Linked DNA regions of Homo sapiens: region 2 is linked to region 1. The links are contacts of gene promoters, found by promoter capture Hi-C in blood cells and fetal thymus (Javierre and others, 2016). All regions are on one chromosome and are shown on one strand. Each heading gives the region's core, a stretch centred on a gene start or on the middle of the fragment in contact. The rest is flanking DNA. Distances are from core to core; before and after follow the strand shown.

Region 1 (7,335 bases), core at 3,186-5,685:
CAAGTATTTCTAGCCAGTTATTTATGATTTTTCTTTTGGAGTCTTAATTAAGAGTGTTCCCTGATCTGCAAAGACAAACACACTGTCAGCTATTTGACAGTGTAATAATTAATCTTGCATTTTAGATTGCCGTCATGAGTAGGCTGAAGAAGCAGGCATTCCCAGCAAATCTTCTGTTAAATATGGAAAGCTAAAATAAACAGTGAAACTGGATAGGGTGCTGCTGGCTTTTGTTGTTGATGTTTTTAAAGATGAATTTGGCAAATGTGCCCTAAACAGCTAATTAGGAAGGCTAATTAGCTGATTTCTAAGGCCTCTTCCAAATAAAAGACAACAGACTAGCTACACTCTCTTCTTAGATCTTTGTTTCCTAGACTCTAATTATTTGAGCCCCTTTTTCAGAAATTATTCTATGTCCTAAGGCTGGGTACGGTGGCTCATGCCTGTAATACCAGCACTTTGGGAGGCCGAGTCGGGTGGATCACAAGGTCAGGAATTCGAGAACAGCCTGGCAAACATGGCAAAACCCCATCTGTACCAAAAATTCAAAAATTAGCCAGGCGTGGTGGTGGCGCCTGTAATCTCAGCTACTCAGGAGGCTGAGGCAGGAGAATTGCTTAACCCAGGAGCGGGAGGTTGCAGTGAGCCGAGTTGGTGCCACTGCCCTCCAGCCTGGGCAACAGAGTGAGACTAAATCTCAAAAAAAAAAAAAAAAGTATTCTATGTCCCATGTGAGCTGTACTGTTATTTACTTTTTTTTCCCATAAATCAACCCACTTCTTAAAATGTATATAATCTTATTTAAAAGGGAAAAGTTATATAAAGGGGAAACTTTTTAAATTTCCTAATAGAGGGTAACTGTAAAAAGTAAATACCATGAAAACTGAACTTTGTATACTTCTTAAAAACAAACCTTGTTTAAGATATCTTTGTAATTATTAACTTTAAATAAAAATAGATGAAATGCATCTAATTTATTGACACTGTGTGAAAAACATAGGTGCTGCCTCGTCTAATTTCATTCTCAAAATGACTCTTCAAAGTAAATGTGAGCTCCACTTTTAGAGGTGATGGCTCTGAGACCTGGAAGTGAAGTAAATTGTTCAAGGACCCAGCGTTGGAATGGGTAGCGCAGGTCCAGGTCCAGGGGAGGCGAGAGCCCTCATGACTGCAAGGCGAATCTCTACACCTTGCACTGTCTCTCCTCACCATTCTCATTCAAGCCAACCTCCCTCTTCTATCTTGTGGCAGACTCCTGGAATATACAGCAATGATTCTGGGGTTTTCACCAAAGATGTGGTTAGACTTTCAGGTCTTTTGTAACAGGAAGAAAAAGTATTTGCATCAGGAAAGATGGAAAGATACTGTTATTTTATGGTTGTTTGTTTGTTTGTTTGTTTGTTTGTTTTGAGAGGGAGTCTCGCTCTGTTGCCCAGGCTGAAGTGCAGTGGCGAGATCTTGGCTCACTGCAAGCTCTGCCTCCCAGGTTCACCCCATTCTCCTGCCTCAGCCTCCTGAGTAGCTGGGACTACAGGCGCCCACCACCAAGCCCGGCTAATTTTTTGTGTTTTTAGTAGAGACGGGGTTTCACTGTGTTAGCCAGGATGGTCTTGATCTCTTGACCTCGTGATCTGCCCGCCTCGGCCTCCCAAAGTGCTGGGATTACAGGCGTGAGCCACCACGCCCAGCCGATTGTTGGTTTCTTTCTAACAGAGAAAAGGAATTGAGAATGAGCAGGGGATGGGCTGGGCAGGGGCCAGACAGTGAAGGTGGGAGCAGGGGAAGAAGATGGAGCCAAGAAGCTGCTCTGGAGAGGAGAGAAACGAAAGAGGAGACCTCGGACCCTGGAGAAGGACAGGGAGAGAGGGGGCGGGGGAGGAAATTGATGTTGCCACCCGGGGAAAATAGTGAGGAAAAGGTAGAAAGATGTAGAGGTGTTTTGTGATTTTTTTTTTCCATATAGTGCTTTTGATGTTGTCCTTCATCTTCCATGTTGTCCTTCGTCTTCCATGTCTAGCTCTGTATTTTTTCTAATGCACAGTACAATTTCAAGAGCTTCTCTGCATAGCGCCTGAACTCATCTTCCACACTTTCAGTAGCACATGCACGTGGGAAGCTGCCTGCAATGATCTCATTCATTTCTGTGGCTTTAACTCCACCTTTCGGATGATGACTTAGACATTCATATTTCCAGTTGACCTCTTCCCTGAACTCTACCCACCTGACATCACCATTTACATCTCGAATACCATAACTTCTGCCCCAACTCCATTTCAGACAAACTGGCTCACCTTTGCAGTTCCCTCCACCTTTTCCTTTCAGCACTTTGCCTGCCTGGCTTCCAACGGTCACATCTCAGCGCAAATAATCACCTCCTCAGAGACGCCCACGTGGGTATCCTGATAAAATAAGCCCACCTCCCCCAGTTGCATTGCTCTACCTATTACAAGACCACCTTACCAACAACATTCCCTTAGTTCCGTCACAGTACATGTCACAATTTATACATTTTTGTTTATTTTATTGTTTGCTTATTTATTTTGTCTCCATCGACTAGAACATAAACTCCTCGTGGACAAAAATTTCATCTTTTTTGCTGAAGAGGACTTTGCACATTGTAGGTGCTCAGTAAATCTGTTGATTGAATGAATGAATTCATCTATGATGACCGACAATAAATGATCCCATGAAGAGCGTCTCTGCACCGTATCATTATTGATACGGCCACGTGCTAATGAGTAGAATTTCACAGCAGTTTACAGTTTTAATAGCGCATTCTCATGTGTTATTATGTTTTTCTTCACCAGAACCAATCAAGGAAGTTACTATTTCTATCCCCACTTTACCTTAAGGAAACTCAGTTCAAATCAGTAAGTATAACCCAAGGTATAACTCCCCTGAGAAGCTGTGAGAAGTATGGACAATGCCAAGTGAAAGCGTCTGTGGTTCCTTTCAGACTGACTTATCATCCTGATTTTCCCAGGACTGTTCTGGTTTTAGTACTGAAAATCCTGCATTCTTGGGAAACCAGGACAGTTGGTCACCGGGTCTTACCCAGAAAAGTGTAGATAAGCCATAAGAACTTCATGCAATCAGGCTGGGTGCGGTGGATCATGCCTGTAATCCCAGGACTTTGGGAGGCCAAGGCAGGTGGATCACTTGAGGTCAAGAGTTCAAGACCAGCCTGGCCAACATGGTGAAACCCCATCACTACTAAAAATACAAAAATTAGCCAAGTTTGGTGGTGCACACCTGTAATTCCAGCTACTCAGAGGGCTAAGGCACAAGAATCGCTTAAACCCTGGAGGCAGAGGTTGTAGTGAGCCAAGATCATGCCACTGCACTCCAGCCTGGGTGACAGTGAGACTGTCTCAAAAAAAAAAAAACCAAAAAACAAAAAAAAAAACTTCATACAATCAAATCCCTGGCCATCTAAAATACATTAATGGCCGGGTATGATGGCTCACATCTGTAATCCCAGCACTTATGAAGCCAACACGGGTGGATCAATCACATGAGGTCAGGAGTTCGAGACCAGCCTGGCCAATGCAGCGAAACCCTGTCTGTACTAAAAATACAAAAAATTAGCTGGGCGTGGTAGCGCACTCCTGTAATCCCAGCTACTAGGGAGGCTGAGGCAGGAGAATTGTTTGAACCCAGGGGGCGGAGGTTGCAGTGAGCCAAGATCGCTCCACTGCACTCCAGCCTGGGTGACAGAGTGAGACTCCATCTCAAAAAATAAATAAATAAAAATAAAAATAGATAAAACACATTAACTAAAATGAATTTATTGGAGATGAGAGTAGGGCTGGAGTTTGGAATCTGAAAATGTTAAGTTGCATAATAGTTGATGAACCCACCCACCCAACTTAGGTTTAAGGAATGCTGGAACAGTAAGTCATTAATAACATTCTGAAAAGGAGCGGACGGACACTGAGAGATGCCAACTGAGGTCCTACCCTGAGTGATAAGGTAACTAGGTCAGCCCGATTGTCAAGCCTCATGCTTTCAGACTGAATCTGATGATCCACCACAAGTCCCAAAGGTATTCTGGGCAGTAGTAGAGCCATCCACCGCAGGCACCCTGACCAGAAGGAACCAGCTTATGATTCCAGACAGGAAAATTCTTCCTCTTCCAATGCAGTTTAACACCGTTTTCAATCATTTTGGTAAAGTAGCCATCACAATTTCACAAGTGGTGTGTGTGTGTGTGTGTGTGTGTGTGTGTGTGTGTTTTGCAGGAAGATAATTATTGCATAGGTGGCACTGTCTGTTTATCTAGGTAGATACTGTAGTGCTCATTCATGCCATTGGGTAATTGTAGTGAAGCAATTATGTATCACATTTTGAAAGAGGCATTAAAAAAATTCACCACTGAGATGAGTCAGACTTAATTATCTTGGCTTTTTAGCAGCTGAGTTTAAGGCGCAAGGTGGAGAACACATCAGCTTCAAAGGCAGAGAGAATCGAAGGTGCTCTCCAGCTTTGGACACTTCCTCTGCTTGAGGTAAGACTCATGAACAAACTTCAGGTCTCTGCCAGCCATGATCTCCAAACTGGAGATGTCCCAGATTTGGTAGGACACTTTGAACAGGCAGCTGTCATATATCCTGGGTTATTATTATTGTCTGCCTAGATTTTTCTGTATCTTTGTTTGTTTGTTTGTGTGATGTCACATATGCGCACCTGGAGGCTTCTTAGGCAAAAGCTTTAGTGACAGCTAAACAGCCATAAGAGAGAAAAGAGTTGGTTTAAACCACCTACTTAGTTTTGCATCATGGAACAATGTTAAGAGGGTTGCTCAGTGATCTGGACTTATTTTTGCCTCCATTTCAGAGGGGAACCCAGCACAGTGGCAGAAAATTCTATCTTGTCTCTCAAAATCAGCATGGTTAGGACTAAGGAGTTGTTATAATCTCTGTGCTTTCAAGGCAGGTCTTAAAGCACATCAGTGACCTAGATCCTGCCAGAGCAAAACTAGCCACCCACTTGCCTGGACTGTTGAACTTGTTGGTGTTAGGCATAGAGTTTTGGGGAAAAGACATGCTATGAATTCTCAAGGTCCTTGTCATTAGAGATGTTGCTATAAAACTAGATGTGAGGAGTGGATCCCTTGAAATATTCTGCCCACGTTCCATACCTGTCGATTTAGACTTCTTATGTACGGTCATTTTGTCTTAACCAATATGTCGGAATACCCTTCTAGTTTAGACTTCTTTAAACCTGTTGAACTTAATTTTTCAACCTGCGCCTCTGTTTTGAAGGCTACATTTTACTCATTCATTACTCCCTTAATCGGTTTTTCCAGAGTCAGTCAAAGCTCTTGCCAAGCAGCAGTAGTAGTAGGACCATCTGTGAGTTTCAGGTGTTTTCTAAATTGGACTGGCATTTTCTTAGCTGTCAGGATGACTCACACAAGGACCATTTAATTTAGGAGTATTATTCTGTCTGTGTATTTGTATGGAAAAATAATGACTACTGAGATTTTGAATCTTGGAAAGAAGCAATTCCCCAGAAGCAACAAAATAGATAACTTGCTGGTGGGGTTTTTAAGTGATCTTGGATCCTTTTAACAGGCAACTAGCCCTGCCTGCACTTGTCAGCCAAATTACTTAACCTTTTAGTAGTCATCACCTTGCTTGACAAGGTTCCTTTCCTCCCCTGCCCATAAGTTATCATCGTAACTGAACAATTCAATGAAAAGTTATGTACAATTCACCCCTTCATACCCCAGTAATTTCTTTCACTCATAAAATTTCTAGAGGAAAAATATGTTTTCCTGCCTGTAATTTTGGATTCCTGGATCTCCATCAAAGTGTACCACTTCAGAAACTTTTTTTAACCAAGAAGGGAAAACAGGTTTTACTGCTGGCAGGGAATTTAAAACTCCAGTTGTGTCCAAGAAAATAAGAAGGGATTTGCACTGTGATGCTTGAACGTTTCTAGATGCTTATTGAATTTTTCCACCTTGAAAATGGTGTTTGGTTTTCTGTGCACATGTACCCTAGAACTTAAAGTGTAATAAAAAAAATTGAGTAACTTTTAAACAACAACAACAAAAAGGAAAATGGTGTCAAGCAACTCCTATTTAAAATTCCCAGATGAAAATGAAAACCCTAGCATGTATCGAGTCATTCAATAAAAATAAATTCATCAACACTAGAATTAGGAACCAGAAGAACAAGGTTGGGTTCCCAGGTGCCTTACTTACTGTGGGATCTTGGACGAGTCATCAGATTCTCTAAGCCTCCATGTCCACGTGTCTAAAATGGGAGTAAGATAATAAGAACATCCACTTCAAAGAACTGTGAGTTTTGTAAAGGGTAAAGAAATAAAAATTTATTATTTTAGTTGTTATTCCATTCACAAGTAATATTTCTTCTCTGGTTTATTATGTTTTTTTCACTATAGAAATGGAGAGCTCTATATTATATATGATAGTTTGGTTTTTCCTTTTTTTCTAACCATTTGTAGAACCTTTCTTAGTTGACTGGAATCTTTTAAGTCAGTCAGTTGATCAGTTAGCACATATTAATTTGGGTCTTACCATGTGCCAGGGAGAGATATCATGTCTGCCTTAATTTGCACACAGTCTAATAGGTACAGACATTTTGGTCTTAACATTCTTTCCCATTGCATTCCATTGCTATGAAAATATTTTTCTTTTTTTTTTCTTTTTTTTCTTTTTTCTTTTTTTTTTTTTTTTTTTTTTGAGATGGAGTCTCGCTCTGTCGCCAGACTGGAGTGCAGTGGCACAATCTTGGCTCACTGCAACCTCTGCCTCCTGGGTTCAAGTGATTCTCCTGCCTCAGCCTCCCACATAGCTGGGACTACAGGTGTGCGCCACCACACCTGGTTAATTTTTGTATTTTTAGTAGAGACAGTTTCACCATGTTAGCCAGGATGGCCTTGATCTCTTGACCTCATGATCCGCCCACCTTGGCCTTCCAAGGTGCCAGGATTATAGGCGTGAGCCACCACGCCCGGCCTATTTTTGCTCTTTTAAAACAAAAATCTCTCTAATGCCTGTCTTGGCATAACACATCCATTTACAATTTTTAGCCGGCAGTGATATTAGCAAGACTGCTTTTCAGTTTGGCCTCGCCATATGTTAAAATGTGGAAATGCTCCTATACCAGTTGGTCAGCAGCCACTAACCTGAGTCCCAGAAGTGTTCTCCTCACTCCCATAGTTCATCTCTACTTATCCCCCTTTCCAGGACACCTTGACTAACCTCCAAGGGCAACTAAAGGATCAAGAAAGGCCCAGCACAGCAGAAGATCAGCTGGATCTAGCTCCTGCAGGAGGTACATGCATCCATTCAGAGTGTTAAGA
Region 2 (7,394 bases), core at 181-2,680, 70 kb after region 1:
GCAGCAGAATGGTGTGAACCTGGAAAGTGGAGCTTGCAGTGAGCCGAGATCGTGCCACTGCACTCCAGCCTGGGTGACAGAGTGAGACTCCTGTCTCCAAAAGAAAAAAACATCGTGCAGTCCAGTCAAAGCCTATGGTGTTTGGTTTTGGAAATTCACATAGTTAACTTTCAAAATACCAGAGAAGTGTCCAAGGTTTTGGTGTTGTCTTAAACTAAATCATCAGAGTATCAGGCATGAGAAATGAGAGCAGAGAATCAAAATTATTCCTAGAATTTGTCTTGAACAGCATAGAGAATAAAAGTGCCACTGACTAAGATTCAGAAGGCTGAGAAGAAGCAATTTTGAAAGGTGGGATCAAAAGTTGCCCAGCAGCTTTTCAACTAAAGATGAAAATGATGTGGTGGCATTTCCTGTGTGGTCTAAAGGACAGCTTTTGTCCTTTACGTGAAGATAATCTTACGGCTACTTTTGAACTTTTAAATCTTTTACTCCCTTCAGAACAGACTACCTGAAACCAGTGAGATGAGTCACGAAGAGCTGAACATAAGTCCTGAAGTTCTGGCTGCTTTTATCTTCTGTGTTTTCTCCTAGGCTTTCGCCAAGGTCTTCAACACAACCCCTGATGACTTGGACCTACATGTGATCTATGATGTTTCTCACAACATTGCCAAAGTGGAGCAGCATGTGGTGGACGGAAAGGAACGGACACTGTTAGTACACAGGAAGGGATCCACCCGCGCTTTCCCTCCTCACCATCCCCTCATTGCTGTTGATTACCAAGTACGTAGCTCTACGTTTGTAGTTTTAAGCAGTGGGGGCACGATTTAGATTGTTGCAAATGTGAATTACATTTAAAACGAAAAGCAGCAATTGTGAAAAGAAAATACTCTGTCACTCATGAGAACAGTGATTCCCAATCTTCTCTGAAGCAGTAACTCCTTCCCCCATCATTTGTGCTTGCGGTGGTGCCGTGTGCTATAGCAAGTGCTGCAGGAAGTGTATTTTACTCCACTACCGTGAATTGAGGCCTTTGAATTAGTGGAAGACAGGAGTAACTCAGTTACAGAAGACAGAGTAAACTCAGTCTGTTTCATTCCTCCTGTCCTCTTGGTGTCTGGCTGTGGTGGAGTTCGAAAGACCCCATAGTCTGCTTGCTCCTTTTACAGATGAGAAACCCAAAACAGAGAAGACAAGCACCTTGCTCAGGATGGTGGTTCTAGCAACACTTCTCTACACTTTTGGATTTTGCTTTGCTCTTATTTTGACTCTTCTGCATTTTTACTGGTCCTCAGATTTTCACTCTCGTCCTCTTCCTTCCCCTCCGATTTATCAAAGAATCAAAGTACTATCTTAATATAGTTTACTAGCCGCGCGTTTAGAAGTCTGGGTTTCTCCGGCCGGGTGTGGTGGCTTACGCCTGTAATCCCAGCACTTTCGGAGGCCAAGGCGGGCAAATCACGAGTTCGGGAGATCGAGACCATCCTGGCTAACATGGTGAAACTCCGCCTCTACTAAAAATACAAAAAATTAGCTGGGCATGGCAGCAGGCGCCTGTGGTCCCAGCAACTCGGGAGGCTGAGGCAAGAGAATGGCGTGAACCCAGGAGGCGGAGCTTGCAGTGAGCCGAGATCCCGCCACTGCACTCCAGCCTGGGCGACAGAGCAAGACTCCCATCTCAAAAAAAAAAAAAAGAAGTCTGGGTTTCTCCTACAATCCTACAGTGCAAGAGAAAATTTAAATTTTATGCATAAAAAGCCTATGTTTTTCTGAATTTTAACATGTTTGATTTATGTGCATCCTCAGCTCACTGGACAGCCAGTGCTCATTGGTGGCACCATGGGAACCTGTAGTTATGTTCTTACTGGCACTGAACAGGGCATGACTGAGACCTTTGGAACAACCTGTCATGGAGCGGTAAGGAAAACAGAAACTTCCTTAGAAATGCTCTCTTCAGTTTAGCTATGGTTTTCCATTTTGACTGGTAAATGTAGCTGATTGAACATTAACAGAGTTGAGACTTGGGCCTATCATGTCTTGTACTTCAAATTGTTCCCCATAATGTATACTATTTAGTGAACTGACTGGGGTCACCTAGTATCTCTGCCTCAGTGAGATCTGGTAGGGTTAGGGACCGTTTCTTATCTCTGCAAGTCCAGAAAATCCAGACTGGGAAATTGTCACACTAGCTGAGCTTACTGTCTGGTTTATAAGTGATAGAACTTTAACTGATGCAAATATCACAGTTGATCTCAGCGACTGACTGGACCTGCTCCTTTGTTTAATTTGCCCCTTCCTATTGTGTAGGTCCACGCAAGATTGGAAGGATAGGCCCTATTTGCAAATTAGAGCCCATGTACAGTCTACACACACACCCATTTCAAAACACTGCCTCTCATCTTCTAAGCCCAGGGGTCAGGAAACTCTTCCCATAAAGGGCCAGACCGTAAATATTTTAGGCTTTTGGGACCAGATGGTCTGTGTACCAGCTATTCAGCTATGCCATTTCAGTGCAGAAGCAACCTTAAGTACTGTGTAAATGGGCAATGCTGTGTTCTAATAGAACTATTTTAGGCCAGGCATGGTTGCTCACACTTGTAATTACAGCACTTTGGGAGGCCAGGGCAGGAGGAGCACTTGAAGCCGGGAATTCAAGACTAGACTGGGCAACATTAGCAAGACACCGTCTCCACAAAAACTTTTTAAATTAGCCGGGTGTGGTGGCACACCTGTAGTCATAGCTACTCAGGAGGCTAAGGCAGGAGGATTGCTTGAGCCCAGGAGATTAAGGCTGCAGTGAGCTATGATTATGTCACTTCACTCCAGTCTGGGTGACAGAGGGAGACCCTTTCTCAAAAAACAAAATAGTTTATTTTAAAAAGCAGGTGGTGGGCCATATTTGGCCCATACACCGTAGTTTGCCGGCCCCTTTTCTAAGCCATCCAGAGTGTTGAGCCAGTGTTGAAATGGGAAAGAGAAACTGTCTAGAGTACCTTCTCCTAGGACAGACCTTCACAAATGTATTTAATCCTACTTTTTTTTCTGATTGTTTCTCATTTCTAGCTGCCTCCCAACTCCTAATTTTAACCCAGTAGTTTTCAACAAAGGAGATCCCCCTACCGCCATGGGGACATTGACAATTTCTGGAGGCTTTTTTTATTGTCATGGTTTAGTGGGAGTTGCTATTGGCATTTAGTGGGTCTTAGAGGCGAGGGATGCTGCTGAATACACTGCGCTGCGCTGCTGAATACCCTGCATAGGACAGCCTCCCAACAAAGAATTCTCCGGTCCAAAATCTAAAAGGATATGATGAGGTTTAAAAGGCCTGTTACCAATTCGATAAAGTAAAAAAGATGTTTTTTTAAGCTCCTTTTTAGTGTGAGAGAAAATCAGGGAAAGGGCTTATCATCTTAGGGTTTAAAGTAAAGTTCATTCCTTTCCCATTCTAGGGCCGTGCATTGTCCCGAGCAAAATCTCGACGTAATTTAGATTTCCAGGATGTCTTAGACAAATTGGCAGATATGGGAATTGCGATCCGTGTTGCCTCACCCAAACTGGTTATGGAAGAGGTAAGTGAAATTTTGATAAATACATGAATATTTATTGTTCCCCATTTGTAATTTGTTCCAGTCTACAGAGACAGCAATTTAGGGTGTTACTAACAGAAATTGTTTGGGTTATTTTTTTTTATGACCTCAATTTTGGCTTATCTTCCTTGGATTAGCTTATTTCAGTTTTATGTTTTCATTTCTTTTGGTTAAAATTACGAGCCAAGTCCTTAAGAATGATTTTTACTGTTCATTTATAGTCTCCATCTACATATTAAGCTTTTCAAGAGTAGTTTGAGCTGACTCTTGTTTTTGCACAATTGTATACTTAGGTTTCAATTTGAAAGCAAATTTGAAAAAGGAAGGCATAAATGTTTGGAGAAAGTTTTATTTGATTCACAGGAGAACAGATTTTGTTTAAATTCTGTATATATGTTTACATATATGTACATATTTAAATTAAAAGCAATATAATTCCTTAATGATTTAAGAGAAAAGAAAAACAGTCATCCAAAAACTCAATGCCCTGACACAGTTATTACCTTATCTTTTAGAATACTTATTATTGTCGGCCGGGCGTGGTGGCTCACGCCTGTAATCACAGCATTTTGGGAGGCCGAGGTGGGCAGATCACATGAGGTCAGGAGTTTGAGACCAGCCTGATCAACATGGTGAAACCCCTACTAAAAATACAAAAATTAGCTGGGCATGGTGGTGGACACCCATAATCGCAGCTACTCAGGAGGCCGAGACAGGAAAATCACTTGAATCCGGGAGGCAGAGGTTGCAGTGAGCCAAGATCATGCCACTGCACTCCAGCCTAGATGACAAAGTAAGACTCCGTCTCAAAAAAAAAAAAAAAAAATTTACTTATTGTCATAGTTTTTTCCTAAATGCTTTTTTTAAAGCTAGTCTTAATTATAGTTAAGAAACATTCTGTAGTTATTTTTAAAATTTTGCACATTATTATAAAATTGTTTGTGTCACTTTTTAAAATCATTGCTGAATATTCCACCAGCTGAGTACCTTACTTTCTGCCTGTAGTGGACATTTAAGTAGCTTCCAAATTTTTGCTACTATAAATTAAATTGTAATGAGTGTCTTCATGCATGAAGGTTTTTTCCAGTTGTTATAGTAATTAGAACAAAGTCTCAAAAGTGGAGTTACATGGTGGCTCATGCCTATAATCCCAGTACTTTGGGAGGCCAATGCAGGAAGATCTCTTGAGGCCAGGAGTTCAAGATTAGTTTGGCCAAAGATTAGCCAGGTGTAGTCCTAGCAACTCAGGAGACTGAAGCTGGAGGATTGCTTGAGCCCAGGACCTTGAGGTTACAGTAAGCTATGTGATTGTCCAGACTTGGTGCAAAGCAAGACCCTATCTCTAAAAAAAAATAAGGAAAAAAAGTGGAATTACTGAGTCAGAGTATGACAAAGACTTATTTTTTTTAATAACAATTCATTTTTCCCCTGATCTTAAGAATACATGGTTAATTTAAAAGATTTGGAATATACTGGCCAGGTGCAGTGGCTCAGGCCTGTAATCCCAGCATTTTGGGAGGCTGAGGCGGGTGGATCACAAGGTGAGGAGATCAAGACCATCCTGGCTAACACGGTGAAACCCCATCTCTACTAAAAATACAAAAAATTAGCCGGGCGTGGTGGCGGGCGCCTGTAGCTCTAGCTACTCGGGAGGCTGAGGCAGGAGAACGGCGTGAACGCGGGAGGCGGAGCTTGCAGTGAGCCGAGATCGCGCTACTGCACTCCAGCCTGGGCGACAGAGCAACACTCCATCTCAAAAAAAAAAAAAGGATTTGGAAAATACAAAGGAGAAAACAGAAAACATTTAGAATTCAATCAGCCAGAAATAATTACAGTTAAAATTTGGATTTTTGGTTTTTTGGTTTTGTTTTGTTTTTTCACCTGCAACACGTGATTATTTGATTCACTTACTCAGCTAACACGTACTAACCATCCGCTATAGTTAGGTACTGTTCTATATGCTAGAGATACTGCAGTGAACAAAAGAAACACGAGTCCCTTCGTTGTGGAGCTTTCCAAATAATAAAACATACAGTGTGTTAATGACCATGCAAGTTCTATGAAATAAAAAGCAGGGAAAGGTGGTAAGGAAAGGTGGGAAGGGGTACAGTTTTAAGCAGGTGGTCGGAGAAGACTTCAGTGAGGTGACAGTAGAGCAAAGACCTGAAGAGAGAGAGGAAACAGGCTACCTGGGCATCTGGAGGTGAGCTTTCGAGGCAGAGAGAACAGCAAGCGCAAAATCTGTGAGCTGAGGTTATGAAGGAGTGTTCAAGAAACAGCAAGGAGGCCAGGCATGACAAGAGCAAGCCAGAGGGAGATGAGGTCAGAGAGGTAGGGGGCGCCAGAGCATTTGGACTTTTGCTTTTACTCTGATTAAAATGAAAAAACCTTGGAGGATTTTGAGCAGAATAGTGACGTGATCTGACAAATGTGTTTGCATGTTGATGAGAAGAATCTACAAGAGAAATTAATGATGCAGAAAAGAGGGAGGAAATTGCTGGAGAAGTGTCCTTGAATAGATGAGAGGAGATAGAGTCTGATGTACAAGTGGATGGGGTTGGTCTTTGCTAGGAGCACAGATAATTCATCCTTTATAAAAGGAGAGAAGAAGCTGAGCACAGTGGCTCACACCTGTAATCCCAGCACTTTCGGGAGGCTGAGGTGAGAGTATCGCTTAAAGCCAGGAGTTTGAGACCAGCCTGAGCTACAAAGCAAGACCCCATCTCTACAAAAATAAAAAAAATTAGGCACAGTGGCACATGCCTGTAGTCTCAGTGAGCTATGATTGTGCCACTGGACTCAACCTTGGGTGACAGAGTAAAAAAATAAAAGGAGAGAAGGTATAGATACAGATATGTGGGGAAGATAAAGTTAGCATGTTTATGAATATTCTGGCTGCTTCTATTTTTTTCAGTGTATTACATAGTAAGGTCAGCAAGTGAGAGTGGGATCTGAGAAAAGGTATGAAATATTCATCTAGGGGAGAGACAGTCATTGGCCCAGTGGAATTTCATCTGATTGCCAGGAGCTAGAAATCGCCAAGTAGTACTGGGGAGTGATTCAGGCTCCCACAGATAACTACAGCCAAAGGTAGTTTGTGGTACGATGTAATGACTGCAAGATTCAAAACTAGGAGTGCCTAGGGAGAACGGGAGAATAGAAACAACCATGAAAGCCAGGAGCACACCTGTCCCACTTCTGGGACCAATGGCATGACCTGATTTGGGGAAAACAGCAGTCACCATTCAGAAAGTTGGAGATGAAAGTGGTATCCTCGGGAAAGATCCGTGTTTCAGTAAAACAAGAAGGTGAAGGGAACATTCAAAGAAGAAGGGAGGGAGGGGATTTTGCTCCTTCTGGAAGGAGTTCCAGAGGCCACAGTGGGAAAGTTTCAGAAACTGGAAGGGAATGGGAGATGGGATAGAAAAGGATATTATGTACAGAACCGTACGGGAATCAGCATGGATGGCCTAAGCTTGTATTGACAGGAATGAAGATAAAGTGAGTGTGTGATGAGATTAGTGCTAATGGTGGCAAGGCTGTGTGGGTAGGATGGAATGGTGGGAATGTTGCTGGAAAGTCACAGAAATTGTCTGTGAGTGTAGGTACACATAGATACCCACATATACATGTGCACACAGTTTTACTTTGTTTTATACATATATGAATTTTATAACTTACTGTGAAGGTACTACATGTTCATTCCAGAAATTTTGATAACTGCAGAAATATATAAAGGAAGAAAATTAAAATTGCCAGTAATTCTACCATCAAGAGATAATTATCACTAACATATGATGGTTGGGT

The links. Contacts are between HindIII fragments. The CHiCAGO score rates a contact against its expected background, and 5 or more counts as called.
Region 2: a fragment that was not itself captured here is called in contact with the fragment with the promoter of BPIFC in region 1 in 3 of 17 cell types (M1 macrophages, M2 macrophages and total CD8 T cells); the score reaches 6.5 in M1 macrophages.

What each region holds. Positions count from the first base shown.
Region 1 is chr22:32,461,546-32,468,880 of GRCh38, reverse strand. BPIFC (BPI fold containing family C) reads left to right here and starts at 4,435. Exons shown (of 17, transcript NM_174932.3): 1 at 4,435-4,507; 2 at 7,220-7,307. The HindIII fragment of the contact is 5,490 bases long and covers 1-4,710 here.
Region 2 is chr22:32,388,415-32,395,808 of GRCh38, reverse strand. RTCB (RNA 2',3'-cyclic phosphate and 5'-OH ligase) reads left to right here. Exons shown (of 12, transcript NM_014306.5): 9 at 595-783; 10 at 1,807-1,917; 11 at 3,450-3,569. Among named protein-coding and RNA genes, the nearest start is that of RTCB, 20 kb to the left of the region's middle. RefSeq lists a silencer at 949-1,146. The HindIII fragment of the contact is 4,798 bases long and covers 1-3,829 here.